3 separate regions of the Homo sapiens genome follow, and regions 2 and 3 are each linked to region 1. The links are contacts of gene promoters, found by promoter capture Hi-C in human tissues and cell types (Jung and others, 2019). All regions are on one chromosome and are shown on one strand. Each heading gives the region's core, a stretch centred on a gene start or on the middle of the fragment in contact. The rest is flanking DNA. Distances are from core to core; before and after follow the strand shown.

Region 1 (4,267 bases), core at 1,359-3,858:
AAACTCCCAGAAGCTCAGATGACTAGGATCTCTGCTGGATTTCCATACAGGGGTGAGGGCAGAGCCTGTATTGAACTTCCCAAAATACTCCCTGAGGTTTTGGAACTTGCTCTCTCCTACCATTCTTTCATCCTCTCTCCTACCATTCTTTCATCCTGAGATCTTCTCTCTCATGCATTTATTCATTCAACAATTATTGAGTGCCCAATAAATAAATAGAGATGAGGGTTTTTTTTGTTGTTGTTGTTTGTTTGTTTTTTTGAGACAGAGTCTCACTCTGTTGCCCAGGCTGGAGTGCAATGGCGCGATCTTCGCTCACTGCAACCTCTGCCTCAGCCTCCTGAGTAGCTGGGGTTACAGACACCTGCCACCAGGCCTGGCTAATTTTTTTTTTTTGTATTTTTAGTAGAGATGGGGTTTTGTCATGTTGGCCAGGCTGTTTTTGAACTCCTGACCTCAGGTGATCCACCCGCCTCAGCATCCCAAAGTGCTGGGATTACAGGTGTGAGCCACCACACCGGCCAGTGTATTTTGTTTTGTTTTTTGTTTTTTGTTTCTTTTTGAGACTGAGTCTCACTCTGTCACCCAGGCTGGAGTGCAGTGGAGTGATCTCGGCTCACTGTAACCTCTGCCTCCCCAGTTCGAGTGATTCTCCTGCCTCAGCCTCCCGAGTAGCTAGGATTACAGGCACCCACCACCATGCCCAGCTAATTTTTGTATTTTTAGTAGAGATGGGGTTTCACCATGTTGGCCAGGCAGGTCTTGAACTCCTGACCTCAAGTGATCCACCCACCTCAGGCATGAGCCACCGCGCCCGGCCTATGGATAAGGTCTTGATGCTGGAGAAAGGAGAGTGAACAAAACAATCATGATCCCTGCCCTCATGGGGCTTACAGACAGGGAGTAATCAGATAATTGCACAAATAAATAATCATAGATTTTGGTAAATGCTAAGACATTTACAGAGGGCCAGAAGAAAACATGTCAGGCAGTTCCAATCTCTAGGTCAAGAGAGACAGGCATTCTCTGTTGAGCTGGAAGAGGAAACTAAGGCCCAGGACAGGGTAGGTGTGCCTGTTGTCGCTTGGTGAGTCAGGGCTGTATTAGGACCAGAAGTCTCACTCCTGACTACTGAATAAAAGGCCTAGCTTCAGGCTGATATCCATCATGACACATCTTCCCACTCCTCTCCCTGCTACCTCCTGATTCCACTCCCTTTGGAAAATAAGTTTTGATCCGCAGCCCTGACATTTGACGCCCATAAACCTCTAAACTCCATCTTCATTATCTCCTCACCCCCACCCCATACAGAGTGCAGTCCAGTCAGGTTGGCAAGGGCTGCTGGTCAGGGCCAGATGACCAGAAAGTGTAGAGGAGGAGAGAATTTGGGGCTTTCAGGCTGGGAGCAGCTAGGGAAGGGCCAAGCCGGAAAAGCAGCATCTGCCAGGCTGGTAAGAGACAAGGCTCAAGTGCAGGCACTGCGAGGAAGCGAGAGTGAGGTAGAAGGATGCTCTAATGCCAGGAAGTGACGTGCAGGGACAGAGGGATGGGGGATGAAGGATGAAGAATGGAGGGGAGGATGAAGCTGGGCCACATGGCTAGGAGGAAGAGCAGCAGGGAAGGAATGCACAGAGAGCTCTTTGCCCCCAGGTCTCTTCCAATCCCTGTCTCCTCCTTCTCTTACCCCCACTTCTCACAATTCCAGCAGAGGGCTGAGGGGAACACAGTAAAATTCTGGAGACTGCTTCCTAGGGAGCAGAGTACCTTACTAATACCCCGGCCAGATCCATGGCTCAGGGAGGGGTGGGGTAATCCACAGGAGAGTGAAGGCGTTCTAGTCCCCAAGGACTTTTGAGAGGTCATGCAGTCCATGCCTCCGTCTCCCAACACCCAACAGAGGGGAATCATATTCTCTTTACCCCTCCCTAGACATGAAGAGATTCTCCGCTTCTCCCAGACCCTCTGCTTCTCACAATCCCTGGCTGTGGGGAACTTCTCTTAAGGCACAGATTGGATCCCTCTTGCTGCAGTCTCTGACTTGGTTTCTCCTATCCTGTCCTCTGTGGCTAGAGAAAGCCCTCTTCTGGGTGATCACAGCGGTTCCTTAGGATCTCCCCTTCAACATTCCTTCATCGTTAGTTGGTTCTTCCCAGAAGGTAAGCCCAATCCCTTCTACTGCAGTCCCTAGCATCCTCTCCGTTGTCGCATCCTACGCCTCCAAGGCAGAAATGCACCCCCTTCCTCACCAAATAATTAACAGAGACAAGGGAGAAGAAGGGAGAGATCCAAGAAGATGGGGATGAATTAAGGAGATGGAGCTGGAGGTGGATGCTTGACACAGAAGAAGGAAGACCGGGGACTTCCCAAGGCAGGGCAGGGACGGGGTCAGCGGGCCTCACCGGTGTCGGGGTCTCCCAGAAAGGCGTCCTCGTCCTTGCGGCCCCTCAGCGGGGCCGCGGGCGCCGGCTCGTCCTCGGGCAGCCGCGGGAAGCTGGTGATGCTCATGTAGTCCACTGGCGAGTAGGCGCCCAGGGCGCTCTCCTGGCTGGCCTCGTTCTCCGCCGCCATCCTCGCCCGCGCCCCCCAGCAGCGCAGCGCCTGCCGGAAGTGGCTGCGGCGGGGGAGTGGGAGGGCGGAGGGCGGGGCCTGATCTTCGCGACAGCCGGGAGGGGGCGCCTCTCCCAGCCCTCGGCCGTGTCCCGGTCTGACTCGCCCCCGTCTGCTCAGCGCTATCAGCCTGCAGCTGGCACACAGGTGCGTGTAGATGGACAGCCAGGAAGGCAGCGCAGGGTCGAGGGGAGAGCGCGGGGCAAGCGAGACTTCAGTGGCTCTGCACTTTACGCAGCTCAGGGACCAAACCCCTTCCTCCTTCCAGCCTGAATACAGCTAGTGTCCTCCTCAAATCCCAGGCTTCCTTTTCGGGCCCCAGACCCTTTCACTGACCGCAAATCCCTCTCGACCCCAGATCCTGTCTCTGACCCCAAACTCCTCGGACCCCAGACCCCTCCTTGAATTCCGAGATCCTCCTCCTCCGATTTTAGACTCCTCCTCCGACCTTAGACCTCTTTTTCGACTTCAGACTCTGTCTTCACCCCCAAACCCTTTTGAAAACCCCAGCCCATGCTTCATCTCCAGGCCTCTTTGACTGCAGACGCCTCTTTGGACAACAGATCCCTCCTCTGACCTCAGATCCCTTCCCGCACCCCGACACTTCTGACTCCTCTTTCAACCGCATTCTCAAACTTTAGTGTGTGTTAGGATCTTTGAAAGCGGATCCCCAGATTCCACTCCAGAGATCATGATTCAGTAGGCTGGGATGAGGTCCTTGGAACCTGAATATTTACCATCATTTTAAGAGTTTTTGATGTGGTTCTGGAAAGGACACTTTGAGAAAGAAGGAGTGGTGGTAGTGATGGTAGGGCAGGAGTGGGGCAAGGTGGGGAATAGGTCTCCATATTCTGGATGTCTGGGTTCTATTCTGCCACCGCTCAAACACTGTGTAATCTTGGGCAAGACAATTAGTCTCTCTATCAGTTTCCCCATCTGTGAAATGGAAAGAATAATAGTACCCATTTTAGAGGGTTGTCATGAGGATTAAGTAACAGAATGGAAAGCGATTAGTATAGGGCTTGGCACCTACTCAATAAATGGCATCATCATCATCATCATCATTGCCTTAATCTGGTAGATTCATTCCCTCCAAACTCATCCATCCTCTCTCCACTCCAAAATTCCAACCACACTACAGCTTGTACTACTTCTCCATATCCAAGGATGAGGGAGGTTCCTTCTTTTACGAGGTCTCTGTTCCAAACTTTCATTGTGAAGTCCACAGGAAGAGAGGGGGGCTGGTGAAGCCTCTATACACACATCCTTTCTCTTCCCAACCCCAGACCAGTCTCAGGGATGGCCTGAAGTGCTTGAAAAATCTACTATATACACAGCAGCTGCAGTAGCAACTATAGACAGGAGGGGGAAGCAGTGTGTCGGGAACAGCTCTGGGGTTTGGGTGTAGGACTTGGGAGAGAGGATAGGAAGGAGAGGGCTACTCAGAGCTGTGTGGTAAGAGTGCCCAGGGAGGGTAACAGTCTATCACCAAAAAGTGTACCCATTGTCTGTGCCTTTCCCCACCCCAGAGAGTTCTTATCTCCTCAGTGATGTTTGTAGGGTCTATTACACTACCCTGAGGTCTAATCCCTCTGGTGGGACCCTTCCCCACTTGATGAGGTCTGCACCTTCTCAGTGATGTCCACTCCCACAGTGTAGT
Region 2 (4,267 bases), core at 503-3,002, 330 kb after region 1:
TCTTATTTAAGAAATACAGGCCAGGTGCAGTGGCTCACGCCTGTAATCCCAGCACTTTGAGAGGCCGAGGTGGGCGGATCACAGGGTCGGGAGTTCAAGAGCAGCCTGGCCAGCATAGTGAAACCCTGTCTCTAATAAAAATGCAGAAATTGGCCGGGCATGGTGGTGGGCGCCTGTAGTCCCAGCTACTTGGGAGGCTGAGCAGGAGAATCGCTTGAACCTGCGAGTCAGAGGTTGCAGTGAGCCAAGATCATGCCACTGCACTCCAGCCTGGGCAACATAGTGAGACTGTGTCTCAAAAAAAAAAAAAAAACATTTCATAGGCTAGAGCTGCCATAGATAGTGATTTCTCTGGATGATCTGGGCAAAGTAAACAAAAAGCCTTCTGGAAATGATTCACCATTCTAAATGTCATTAAGAACAGTTGTGATTCATGGGAGGAGGTTAAAAATATCAACATTAACAGAAATTTGGAAGAAGTTGATTCCAACCCTCATGAATGACTTTGAGAGGTTCAAGTCTTCAGTGGAGGAAGGAACTGCTGATGTAGTGGAAATAGCAAGATAACTAGAATTAAAAGTGAAGCCTGCAAATGTGGCTGAATTCTGTAATCTCATGATAAGACTTTAATTAATGAGGAGTTGCTTCTTCTGGATAAACAAAGAAAGTGGTTTGTCAAGATAGAATCTACTCCTGTTGAAGATACTGTAAACACTGTTGAAATGACAACAAAGGATTTAGAATATTACATAAACTTAGTTGATAAAGAAGCAGCCAGAATTGAGAGGATTGACTCCAATTTTGAAAGAAGTTCTACTGTGGGTAAAATGCTATCAAACACCATCACATGCTACAGAGAAATATTTTGTGGAAGGAAGAGTCAATTGATATGCAAACTTTATTGTTGTCTTATTTTAAGAAATTGCCACAGCCACTCCAATCTTCAGCAACCACCACCCTTATTAGTCAGTAATCATGAACACTGAGGCAAGAACCTCCACCAGAGAAAAGACTATGACTCACCGAAGGCTCTGATGATTGTTCAGATTTTTAAGCAACAAAGTACTTTTTAACTAAGGTATTTACATTTTAGACAAAATGTCATTGCATAACACTGTATGCAATGTCTAATGTAATTAGACATAATGTTATTGCACATTTATTAGACTATAATATAGTATAAACACAACTTTTATTTATTATTGTTTTTCTTTTTAGACGAACTCTTTGCTCTGTCGCCCAAGCTGGAGTGCAGTAGCAATCTTGGCTCACTGCAATATGCACCTCCTGGGTTCCAGCGATTCTCCTGCCTAAGCCACTTTGGTAGCAGGGATTACAGGCATGTTGCCACCATGCCCGGCTAATTTTTGTATTTTTAGTAGAGACGGGGTTTCACCATGTTGGCCAAGTTGGTCTCGAACTCCCAACCTCAGGTGATCCACCTGCCTCGGCCTCACAAATTGCTAAGATTACAGGTGTGAGCCACTGCACCCGGCCTTAAACATAACTTATATATGCACTGGGAAACCAAAAACCTTGTGTGATTCACTTTGTTGCAATATTCACTTTACTGAAGTGGTCTAGAACTGAACCTGCAATATTTCCAAGGTATGCCTGTAGTTGTGAGATGTCAGTGTTTTACTTGAAGTGTTAAAACATTGATTTTAAGTTGACTGTTAAAATTAGGTATGTGTATTATTATCCCTAGATCAACAGCTAAAAAAAAAAAACCACAAAAGATATAGACAACCAATATATTAAATTGGAATATAAAACATATTCAAATAATCCAAAATATAACAGGAAAGGGGACATTGAGAGGCAAAAAAATGGAGGAGACAAGCAGAAAAATAACAAATTGTAGACCAAAATCCACTCTTATCAATAACTACATTAAATGTAAATGGTCTTTAAAAATGTAAATGGTCTAAACACACCAATTAAAAGACAAAGATGGCTGGGTGCGGTGGCTCACGCCTGCAATCCCAGCACTTTGGGAGGCCGAGGTGGGCTGATCACCTGAGGTCAGGAGTTCAAGACCAGCCTGGCCAACATGGTGAAACCCCACCTCTACTAAAAATACAAAAATTAGCCGGGCAAGGTGGTGCATGCCTGTAATCCCAGCTACTCGGGAGGCTGAGGCATGAGAATCGCTTGAACCTGGGAGGCGGAGGTTGCAGTGCACTGAGATCATGCCATTGCATTCCAGCCTGGGCGGCAGAGCAAGATTCCATTTCAAAAAAAAAAGACAAAGATCATCAGATTGGAAAAAGAAAAAAACAAGACCCAACTATATGCTATTACATTTTATTTTATTTTTACTTCTCAAATGTTAAGGAAACCTATTTTAAATATAAAGATATAAATATAGGGAAATTACATAATGATAAAAGGGTCAATTCACCAAGAAGATAAACACTGAAATATAATATGCAACTAACAAAGATCCAAAATAAATGAAGCAAAAATTGATAGAACTAAAAGAGATATGGAAAAATCCACAGTCATAACTGGGAGACTCAATAAGTCCATTCTCAATGACTGATAAACAAATAGATGGAAATCAAAAAGGATATATCAAACCTGGATAACGTTATCAACTGGTTTAATATAATGGACATTTACAAAAAACACTCTACCCAAGAACAACAGAATACATATTCTTTCCAAGTGCCCACAGAACATATACCCAGATAGATCATATTCTGGGTCATAAAATAAACTAACAATTTTTAATAAAACCACATAAAGCATGTTCTCTGGCTATACCAAAATTAAACAAGAAATAAATAATAGAAAACTCCCCCAGCCTAACCAACATGGTGAAACCCCGTCTCTACTAACAATACAAAAATTAGCTGGGCATCGTGGCGGGTGCCTATAATCCCAGCTACTCGGGAGGCTGAGGCAGGAGAATTGCTTGAACCTGGGAGGTGGAGGCTGCAGTGAGCTGAGATCACGTCATTGCATTCCAGTCCAGGTGGTAGAGCAAGATTCCATTTCCAAAAAAAAAAAAAAGACAAAGATTATCGGATTGGAAAAAGAAAAAAACAAGACCCGACTATATGCTATCAGCAAGAAAGCTATTTTATTTTATTTTTACTTCTCAAATGTCTTATGGTTTAAGGAAATCTATTTTAAATATAAAGATATAAATATAGGGAAGTTACATAATGATAAAAGGGTCAATTCACCAAGAAGATAAACACTGAAATATAGTATGCAACTAACAAAGATCCAAAATAAATGAAGCAAAAATTGATAGAACTAAAAGAGACATGGAAAAATCCACAGTCATAACTGGGAGACTTCAATAACTCTGTTCTCAATAACTGATAAACAAATAGATGGAAATCAAAAAGGATATATAAAACCTGGATAACATTATCAACTGGTTTAATATAACGGACATTTATAAAACACTCTACTCAAGAGCAACAGAATACATATTCTTTCCAAGTGCCCACAGAACATATACCCAGATAGATCATATTCTGGGTCATAAAGTAAACTTTAACAATTTTTAATAAATTAAAACCACACAAGGCCGGGCGTGGTGGCTCACACTTGTAATCCCAGCACTTTAGGAGGCTGAGGCAGTGGATCACCTCAGGTCGGGAGTTCAAGACCAGCCTGACCAACATGGTGAAACCCCATCTCCACTAAAAATACAAAACTAGCCGTGCATGGTGGCACATGCCTGTAATCCCAGCTACTCGGGAGGCTGAGGCAGGAGAACCGCTTGAACCCAGGAGGCAGAGGTTGTGGTGAGCCGAGATCATCCACATAAATGGTGTTCTCTGGCTATACCAAAATTAAATAAGAAATCAATAATAGAAAACTCCCCCAGCCTGACCAACATGGCAAAACCCTGTCTCTACTAAAAATACAAAATGTCATTGCATAACATTGTATGCAATGTCTAATGTTATTAGACATAATGTTATTGCACATTTATTAGACTATAATATAGTATAAACATAACTTTTATTTATTATTGTTTTTCTTTTTAGACGAACTCTTGGGCGTGATAGTGCGCGCCTGTAATCTCAGCTATTCAGGAGGCTGAGGCAGGAGAATTGCTTGAATCCAGGAGGTGGAGGTTGCAGTGAGCTGAGATCGCACCACTGCACTCCAGCCTGGGTAACAGAACAAGACTCTGTCTCAAAAAAAAAGAAAAAAAAGAAAAAAAAGAGAACTCTCAAATATTTAGAAATTGTTAATATACTTCTAAATAATCCATGGGTCAGAGAAAAAATCTTAAAGT
Region 3 (4,267 bases), core at 581-3,080, 310 kb after region 1:
TGCACTCCAGCCTGGGCAACAAGAGCAAAATTCCATCTCAAATAAATAAATAAATACATAAATAAGAAAAAAAAGACTTGCCGTTCAGCTATAGGGGGAATAGCCAGCAGATAGCTTCCGCTTGCTTCAGTTCTTTCAATGTCTGCCTCAGCTGTAGAGGACAGTCCTGCACAAGATCATGCCCATCCCAGGGCTGCCCTCACTCGGTGCCTAAGCAAGGCAGGGGTATAAAAGTTCGGTCATTTTGGCCAACTGCAGGACAACTCTGAGAATAGGTTGGATTGACAAGGGCTAGCCAGGGCTGGAAATATTCACTCCAGAGCTCCCTGCCAGGGAGGCTGGGTCTTTGTCAGATCTGCATTGCCGTTTGACTTCTCTCTTAGCTCAGCCCTACTTCTTCCCCCTGGTAAGCATCTTGCACCTCAAACTCTGTCTCAGCCTCTGCTTCCAGATAACCCAACTTGTGTGTGTGTGTCTCTCTCTCTTTCAAAATTGAGAAATTTTCTCAATCTTGTCTGGACCATGGCAGCAGCCTCCTCCTAAGAAATTGCCTCTAATTTCTCCATATTTTAATTCATCTTCTACATGGCAGTAAGAAACACAGATCTAATTGTGTCATTATTCCGTTTTTTGTTGTTGTTTGTTTTTTGTTTTTTGTTTTGTTTTGTTTTGTTTTGAGACAGAGTCTCTCTCTGTCACCCAGGCTGGAGTGCAGTAGTGTGAACTTAGCTCACTGCAACCTCTGCCTCACAGGTTCAAGCAATTCTCCTGCCTCAACCTCCCGAGTAGCTGGGATTACAGGCATGTGCCACCACGCCCGGCTAATTTTTTGTATTTTTAGTAGAGTCGGGGTTTCACCATGTTGGTCAGGCTGGTCTTGAGCTCCTGACCTCAAGTGATCTACCCGCCTTGGCCTCACAAAGTGCTGGGATTACAGGCGTGAGCCACCACGCCTGGACTGTTTTTTAAATTTCTCATTGAGTTAAATTCAGAATCCTCAAAATGACATTCAAGGCCTTGCACAATGTGGCCCCAACCTAATTTTCTAATTTAATTTTAATTTAATTTTATTTTATTTTATTTTGAGATGGAGTCTCACTCTGTCACCCAGGCTGGAGTAAAGTGGTGCGATCTCTGCTCACTGCAACCTCCACCTCCTGGGTTCAAGCTATTCTCCTACCTCAGCCTCCCAAGTAGCTGGGATTGCAGGCATGTGCCACCACGCCCGGCTAATTTTTGTATTTTTAGTAGTGACGGGGTTTCACCATGTTGGTCAGGCTGGTCTTGAACTCCTGACCTCATGATCTGCTCTCCTTGGCCTCCCAAAGTGCTGGGATTGCCGGCGTGAGCCACTGTGCCCGGCCCCTCAAATTTTATTTTCTACCATTTCTCTTTAGCCACTGTGCCTTAGATTATTTATTTTAAAAGCATATTTTTAAATGACGGAAGTGGTACAACAACAGCAATAACAGAGAAGTTTACAAAGAAATTTCATAAAGGAAAAACGGAACGCCTCCTGCTTTCTCATTCTCCCCAAATCCTTACTCCAGAGGTATGCTAAGATTATTAGTTGCAAGCAACAGAAACCAATTCTGCCAACTTAAGGGGAAAATAAGTATATTGGAAGGTTATTAAGTAATCCTCAGAGTTGATGGGAAAGCCAGATAATCAAGCTCAGAAAGTAGAACCAGGGACCACAGCCAAAGTCACACCACAGGAATGGTATTAAGGATGCCACAGCTGGAAGCACTACCTCCATCACCAATGCTGCTGCCATATTAAAGGAATTCTCCTCTGACCCTGTGTCTTTACATCATTTGTTCAAGAGTCAATATCCTGAGTGGAAGCAGCCAAATGACCAAGCCTTGATCATGTTGCTTTTGCCTTAGCTGCAAGTGCAGGGGGGAAAAGGAAAACTTTAGATACCTTTGACTTCTCTTGTGGGAGGTGAGAACCTGTCTCCCATTAAGACTCACACAGAGGAAGAGATTTCAGATGCTGGGCAACCAAAACAGGTACAGGTGATTTTAAAGAATTGATGCAAATGAGAAGCCTGGAGATCAGTAGCCACTGCTGTATTTACTAACTCTACATATATTATCTTTTTTTTGAGACAGACTCTTGGTCTGTTGCCCAGGCTGGAATTGGTGGCACGATCATGGCTCACTGCAGCTTCAACCTCCTGGGCTCAAAAAACAGAACAAAAGAAAAATAAAATAGAAAAGCAAAAACAACAAAAACCCATAAATGTTCACTATATCTCACATCATTAATTTATTTACTCGTTTAATAAATGTTTGTCAGAAACTTCCATATAGAAGGCTTTATGTTATGTACTTTGGAAGACACAAAACGATTAGGATATGATCCTTCTCAAGGAGCCCAGTCTTTTCTTGGGAAGATAAAACATACAAAAGAGAACAACACAAGGCAAGATGCATTGTATAACTAGAAGAAACACACAAATAAAAATGTGATGTTATGTGGCCGGGCATGGTGGCTCACGCCTGTAATCCCAGCACTTTGGGAGGCTGAGGTGGGCAGTTCACCTGAGGTCAGGTGTTCGAGACCAGCCTGGCCAACATGGTGAAACCGTCTCTACTAAATATACAAAAATTAGCCAGGCATGGTGGCACGTGCCTGTAGTTCCAGCTACTCAGGAGGCTAAGGAAGGAGAGTAGCTTGCACCCAGGAGGCAGATGTTGCAGTGAGTTGAGATCGTGCCACTGCACTCCAGCCTGGGCGACAGAGCGAGACTCCGTCTCAAAAAAAAAAAAAAAAAAAAAAAAAAGGAAAGAAAGAAAGAAAAATGTTATGCTCTGATTTACTCTTGTAGCTATCATTTACATATTGCTATATAGTTTTTGGAATTCTGTAACTTGCGTTTATCATTTAATACTCTCTTTGGTCTTGTAAGATAGATATAATCATTTTAGATTAGGAGACATGTTTAGGGAGAATAAGAAAGTTAATAACTGATATGGTTTGGATGTTTTGTCCCTCCAAATCTCATGTTGGAACGTGACCTCCATTGTTAGAGATGGGCATAATGGGAGGTGTTTGGGTCATGGGGGCAGATCCCTCATGAATGGCTTAACACCATCCTTTAGTGTTGAGTGAGTTCTTGTTCAGTTAGATTACACATGAGATCTCGTTGTTTAAAAGGATCTGAGACCTCCCCTCCTCTTTCTTGCTTCCTTCTGTCTCATCTTATATGCCTGCTCCCCCTTTGCCTTCCAACATGATTGAAAGCTTCCTGAGGCCTCACCAGAAGAAGATGCTGGTGCCATGCTTCCTGTACATCCTGCAGAAGTGTGAGTCAAAAATAAACCTCTTTTCTTTTATAAATTAGCCACTTGCAGGTATTCCAGTATAGCAGCACAAGAATTGACTAATATAGTATCAGAGCTAGGATTCAAACCCGTGCCTTTGTGTTCTAGGATTTATGCTTTCTCTCCTCTACTAAAACTGCAGGAATCAGAGGAATCTAGGGGAGAAACATGGTATTTGTGAATTGGTGAGATATGACCATGCCCAGATAGGAAAGATAGACAGAACAGATTCAATAATGAAAATAGGAAAAAGCAGAGTAAATTTTAGACATTTCTTAAAGAAGATACACCAGTGGCCAATAAGCACATGAAAAGATGCCCAACATCGTTATAGTCATTATGGAAATGCAAATCAAAACCATGAGATACCACTTCATACCATCAAGAATGGCTATAGGAGGATGGATAGAATCAATATTGTGAAAATGACCATACTGCCAAAAGCAATCTACAAATTCACGCAGTCCCCATCAAAATACCACCATCATTCTTCACAGAGTTAGAAAAAACAATTCTAAAATTCATATGGAATCAAAAAAGAGCCCACATGGCCAAAGCAAGAGTAAGCAAAAAGAACAAATCTGGAGGCATCACACTACCTGATTTCAAATTATACTATAAGGCCATAGTCACCAAAACAGCATGATACTGGTATAAAAATAGGCACATAGACCAATGGAACAGAATAGAGAACCCAGAAATAAACCCAAATACTTATAGCCAACTGATCTTTGACAAAGCAAACAAAAACATAAAAGTGGGGAAAGGACACCCTTTTCAACAAATGGTGCTGGGATAATTGGTTAGCCACAGGTAGAAGAACGAAACTGGATCCTCATCTTTTACCTTATACAAAAATCAACTCAAGATGGATTGAGGAGCTGGGCGTGGTGGCTCACGCCTGTAATCCTAGCACTTTGGGAGGCCGAGGCGGG

The links. The method cuts DNA at HindIII sites, captures the fragments that hold promoters and counts their contacts. A contact is called where the count stands out against the background at its distance.
Region 2: a fragment that was not itself captured here is called in contact with the fragment with the promoter of GGT7 in region 1 in 2 of the 25 tissues and cell types used here (aorta and pancreas).
Region 3: a contact is called between a fragment that was not itself captured here and the fragment with the promoter of GGT7 in region 1, in 1 of the 25 tissues and cell types used here (dorsolateral prefrontal cortex).

The regions. Positions count from the first base shown.
Region 1 is chr20:34,870,248-34,874,514 of GRCh38, forward strand. It overlaps GGT7 (gamma-glutamyltransferase 7), which reads right to left and starts at 2,609. Exons shown (of 15, transcript NM_178026.3): 1 at 2,400-2,609. The coding sequence starts at 2,568. RefSeq lists a silencer at 2,491-2,780. The HindIII fragment of the contact is 17,400 bases long and covers 1-4,267 here.
Region 2 is chr20:35,199,451-35,203,717 of GRCh38, forward strand. All of the region lies in intron 4 of MMP24-AS1-EDEM2 (MMP24-AS1-EDEM2 readthrough), which reads right to left. It also overlaps a transcript of PROCR not described here. Among named protein-coding and RNA genes, the nearest start is that of MMP24, 25 kb to the right of the region's middle. The HindIII fragment of the contact is 5,449 bases long and covers 1-4,267 here.
Region 3 is chr20:35,180,209-35,184,475 of GRCh38, forward strand. The region is part of intron 4 of MMP24-AS1-EDEM2 (MMP24-AS1-EDEM2 readthrough); the gene reads right to left. It also overlaps a transcript of PROCR not described here. Among named protein-coding and RNA genes, the nearest start is that of PROCR, 10 kb to the left of the region's middle. The HindIII fragment of the contact is 9,419 bases long and covers 1-4,267 here.